2 separate regions of the Homo sapiens genome follow, and region 1 is linked to region 2. The links are contacts of gene promoters, found by promoter capture Hi-C in human tissues and cell types (Jung and others, 2019). All regions are on one chromosome and are shown on one strand. The core of a region is centred on a gene start or on the middle of the fragment in contact, and the rest is flanking DNA. Distances in the headings are between cores, read along the strand shown. Region 1 overlaps ARSF (arylsulfatase F). Region 2 holds the start of ARSH (arylsulfatase family member H).

The links. Contacts are between HindIII fragments. The study calls those that stand out against the background at their distance.
Region 1: a fragment that was not itself captured here is called in contact with the fragment with the promoter of ARSH in region 2 in 2 of the 25 tissues and cell types used here (pancreas and small bowel).

Annotation. Positions count from the first base shown.
Region 1 is chrX:3,058,950-3,061,649 of GRCh38, reverse strand. All of the region lies in intron 1 of ARSF (arylsulfatase F), which reads right to left. Among named protein-coding and RNA genes, the nearest start is that of ARSF, 19 kb to the right of the region's middle. The HindIII fragment of the contact is 3,666 bases long and covers 1-2,700 here.
Region 2 is chrX:3,005,105-3,007,829 of GRCh38, reverse strand. It overlaps ARSH (arylsulfatase family member H), which reads right to left and starts at 1,284. Exons shown (of 9, transcript NM_001011719.2): 1 at 1,126-1,284. The coding sequence starts at 1,217. The HindIII fragment of the contact is 37,610 bases long and covers 1-2,725 here.

The DNA.
Region 1 (2,700 bases), core at 84-2,583, 54 kb before region 2:
TTGTAACCTCTGCTTTTTTTTTGCTTTCCATTTGCTTGGTAGATCTTCCTCCATCCCTTTATTTTGAGCCTACATGTGTCTCTGCACATGAGATGGGTCTCCTGAATACAGCACACTGTTGGGTCTTGACTCTATCCAATTTGCCAGTCTGTGTCTTTTAATCAGGGCAGTTAACCCATTTACATTTAAGGTTAATATTGTTAGGTGTGAATTTGATCCTGTCATTATGATGTTAGCTGGTTATTTTGCTCGTTAGTTGATGCAGTTTCTTCCTAGCATCGATGGTCTTTACAATTTGGCATGTTTTTGCAGTGGCTGGTACTGGTTGTTCCTTTCCATGTTTAGTGCTTCCTCCAGGAGCTCTCGTAGGGCAGGCCTGGTGGTGACAAAATCTCTCAGCATTTGCTTGTCTGTAAAGGATTTTATTTCTCCTTCACTTGTGAAGCTTAGTATGGCTGGATATGAAATTCTGGATTGAAAATTCTTTTCTTTAAGAATGTTGAACATTGGCCCCCACTCTCTTCTGGCTTGTAGAGTTTCTGCCGAGAGATCCACTGTTAGTCTGATGGGCTTCCCTTTGTGGGTAACCCGACCTTTCTCTCTGGCTGCCCTTAACATTTTTTCCTTCATTTCAACTTTGGTGAATCTGACAATTATGTGTCTTCTCGAGGAGTATCTTTGTGGCTTTCTCTATATTTCCTGAATTTGAATGTTGGCCTGCCTTGCTAGGTTGGGGAAGTTCTCCTGGATAATATCCTGATGAGTGTTTTCCAACTTGGTTCCATTCTCCCTGTCACTTTCAGGTACACCAATCAGATGTAGATTTGGTCTTTTCACATAGTCCCATATCTCTTGGAGGCTTTGTTCATTTCTTTTTACTCTTTTTTCTCTAAACTTCTCTTATCACTTTATTTCATTCATTTGATCTTCAATCACTGATACCCTTTCTTCCACTTGATTGAATCGGCTATTGAAGCTTGGGCATGCATCACGTAGCTCTTATGCTGTGGTTTTCAGCTCCGTCAGGTCATTTAAGGTCTTCTCTACACTATTTATTCTAGTTAGCTGTTCGTCTAATCTTTTTTCAAGGTTTTTAGCGTCCTTGCGATGGGTTTGAACATTTCCTTTAGCTCGGAGAAGTTTGTTATTACCGACCTTCTGAAGCCTACTTCTGTCAGCTCGTCAAAGTCATTCTCCATCCAGCTTTCTTCCGTTGCTCGTGAGGAGCTGCAACCCTTTGGAGGAGAAGAGGCACTCTGGTTTTTAGAATTTTCAGCTTTTCTGCTCTGGTTTCTCTCCATCTTTGTGGTTTTACCTACCTTTTGTCTTTGATGCTGGTGACCTACAGATGGAGTTTTGGTGTAGATGTCCTTTTTGTTGATGTTGATGCTATTCCTTTCTGTTTGTTAGTTTTCCTTCTGACAGTCAGATCCCTCACCTGCAGGTCTGTTGGAGTTTGCTGGAGGTCCACTCCAGACCCTGTTTGCCTGGATATCACCAGTGGAGGCTGCAGAACAGCAAATATTGCAGAACAGCAAATATTGCTGCCTGATCCTTCCTCTGGAAGCTTTGTCCCAGAGGGGCACCACCTGTATGAGTTGTCAGTTGGCCCCTACTGGGAGGTGTCTCCCAGTTAGGCTACAAGGGGGTCAGGGACCCACTTGAGGAGGCAGTCTGTCCATTCTAAGACCTCAAACACCATGCTGGGAGCACCACTGCTCTCTTCAGAGCTGTCAGACAGGGACGTTTAAGTCTGCAGAAGTTTCTGCTGCCTTTTGTTCAGCTATACCCTGCCCCCAGAGGTGGAATCTACAGAGGCAGTAGGCCTTGCTGAGCTGCAGTGGGCTCTGCCCAGTTCGAGCTTCCCTGGCCACATTGTTTACCTACTCAAGCCTCAGCAATGTTGGATGCCCACCCCCCCAGCCAGGCTGCTGCCTCACAGTTCAATCTCAGACTGCTGTGCTAGCAGTGAGCAAGGCTCTGTGGGAGTGGGAACTGCCGAGCCAGGTGCAGGATATAATCTCCTGGTGTGCTCTTTGCTAAGACCATTGGAAAAGTGCAGTATGTGGGCGAGAGTGTCCCAGTTTTCCAGGTACAGTCTGTCACAGCTTCCTTGGCTAGGAAAGGGAAATCCTCTGACACTTCCCAGGTGAGGCAATGCCCTGCCCTGTTTCGGCTTGCCCTCTGTGGGCTGCACCCACTGTCCAACCAGTCCCAATTAGATGAACAAGATACCTCAGTTGGAAATGCAGAAATCACCCGTTTTCTGTGTTGATCACGCTGGGAGCTGTAGACCGGAGCTGTTTCTATTTGGCCATCTTGGAATGGAATCCCAATTTTTGTATTTTTAGTAGAGACGGGGTTTCACCATGTTGGTCAGGCTGGTCTCAAACTCCTGATCTCAGGTGATCCACCCACCCCAGCCTCCCAAAGTGCTGGGATTACAAGCATGAGCCACCGTGCCTGGCCGCATTTTCAATCCAAACAATAAAATACAAAGAATAAAAGTGACTGTAATTCAGATTCCCATGGCAGCTCCATGACCATCGGTTTGCAGTCTCATTGGTGAATTAGTTAAGTGACTCTGCTTTCTACAGATTCCTCTCCTCCCAGCTTCCAGGACTCTCTCAATTCATTCTGTTTCTCCATGGAATAAGTATTCACTTTGAGGACTTCTTTCAGAATCCCTACTTATAATCA
Region 2 (2,725 bases), core at 35-2,534:
AGAGGCCTCAGGAGGAACCAGCCCTGCAGACACCTTGATCTCAGACTTCCAGCCTCCAGGACTGTGGGAGAATCAATGTCTGTTGTTTCTAAGCCACCCAGTCTATGGTATTCTTTTATAGCAGCCTGAAATAGACTAAGACACCTCATAAGAAGAAGAGATGAGGACACAGACCCACACAGAGGGACGACCCTGTGAAGACACAGGGAGAAGACGGCATCTACAAGGACAGGAGAGAGGCCTCAGGAGGAACCAGCCCTGCCCACACTTTGATCTTGAACTTCCAGCCTCCAGGACTGTGAGAGAATAAGCTGATGTTATCTAAGCCAACCAGTCTGTGGACCTTTGTCACGGCAGCCTGAGAAAATAAATACTTTATATGATTACTTGTATATGAAATTCTAAGAAGAGACACATCCATAGAGACAGAGGGTACATTTGTGGTTAACAGGGCATGGGGATAGGATGGGAAATGGGGGTCTTCTTTGTGGGGGTGACGGTTGTCCAACACTGTGAATGTACCAAATGCCACTGAATTGTTCACTTTAAAATGGTTAAAAGGTGATTTTTTTTTTTTTTTTTAAACAGAGTCTCCCTCTGTCACCCAGGCTGGAGTGCAGTGGTGGGATCATAGCTCACTGCAGCCTCAATCTCCCTTGCTCAGGCAATCCTCCTGCCCCAGCCTCCTGAGTAGCTGAGACCACAGACACACGCCACCATGTCCCAGTAGATTTTTTTTTTTATTATTTTTGTAGAGACGGGGTCTCCCTGTGTTGCCCAGGCTGATCGCAAACTCCTGGGCTCAAGCAATGCTCCCACCTTGGCCTTCCAAAGTGCTGGGATTATAGGCTTGAGCCGCCATGCCTGATCAAAAAAGGCCAATTTTTAAATGTAAATTTTGCCCAACAATGAAAACGCCACCACCAACAGCTAGAATCTAAGGAAACTGGGAGGTTAAGTGGTCTCCTGACATTTTGCAATTTTCCCCAGTGACCTCTGCTATTCCTGCCGATAACATCAGACAATGACTTCTCTCCAGAAACCCTTCTCTGCAACGGCAAAGACGTGAACACTGTGGTAAGGGAGACTCCCACATACAGGGAGGGGGTCAGAGTCCATCTTTACCTCACTGAGTTATTACCGTAGCAGCACAAATCCCCCACTCCAAGGTCATCTGCCATCAGCAGGACAATGTTGGGTCTGGCGTTTCTTGTCATAAATGTGCCATCAACACCGCAAAACAAACAGCACAGGGACACTGACAGCCAGCAGCTCCTGAAAGCATTTTTAGAAATAAGCAAACAAACAAGCAAGCAAAAAACCAGGCACTATCAATTAACATTTGCATTTTAGATAACTTAACATATGAAACAGTGATATTCGTTATCAGTTCTCACTGTACAACGTACCTGTGTTGTCTTACTCAGAAACTAGATTAAACAACAACAACAAAAACTAATGTTCTATACCGGGGTCCCCAATCCCCTGGCCATGGACCAGTACTGGTCCGTAGCCTGTTAGCAACCAGGCCACACAGCAGGAGGTGAGTGGTGGGCAAATGAGTGAAGCTTCATCTGTATTGACAGCCGCTCCCCATTGCTTGCATCACTGCCTGAGCTCCACCTCCTGTCAGATCGGTAGCAGCATTAGATTCTCATAGGAGCGAGAACTCTATTGTGAACTGTGCATGCAAAGGATCTAGGTTGTGTGCTCTTTATGAGAATCTAATGCCTGATGATCTGTCTCTGTCTTCCATCACCCCCAGATGGGATCATCTAGTCACAGGAAAACAAGCTTAGGGCACCCACTGATCATACACTACGATGAGTTGTATAATTATTTCATTATATATTATCGTGTAATAATAATAAAAATAAAGTGCACAATAAATGTAATGTGCTTGAATCATCCTGAAACCATCCTGCACCCCCTTCCTGTCTGTGGAAAAACCGTCTTCCACAAAACCAGACCCTGGTGCCAAAAATGTTGGAGACCATTGTTCTATACGAATATGGCATCATATTTTACCAATTCATTTTGCAAGCATGATGAGGTTTAACTCTTATAACATCTTTTGATATTGTTTTAGTGACATCAGAGGCTTAAAATTTATAACAGGGGTTACAGTTGAGGGTAAGCTCTAAAAATTGAATTTTGCCGGGTGCTGTGACTCATGCCTGTAATCCCAGCACTTTGGAAGGCCAATGCGGGTGGATCATTTGAGCCCAGAAGTTTGAGACTGGCCTGGGCAGCATGGTGAAACCCCATCTCTACAAACAATACAAAAATAGCTGGGCATAGTGATGCATTCCTATAATCCCAGCTACTCAGGAGGCTGAGATGAGAGGATTGCTTGAGCCTGAGAGGTCAGGATTGCAGTGAGCTATGAATGCACCACTGCACTCCAGCTTAGACAATAGAGCAAGACCCTATCTCAAAAAAAACTTTTTTGTTTACTTTATTGAATAAAAATGTAACCAAGGCCGGGCACAGTGGCTCATGCCTGTAATCCCAGTGCTTTGAGAGGCCAAGGCAAGTGGAATACCTGAGGTCAGGAGTTTGAGACCAGCCTGACAAACATGGTGAAACCCCATCTCTACTAAAAATACAAAATTAACCGGGCATGGTGACACGCGCCTGTGGTCCCAGCTACTTCAGAGGCTGAGGCAGGAGAATCACTTGAACCCAGGAGGCGGAGGTTGCAGTGAGCTGAAATTGCACCACT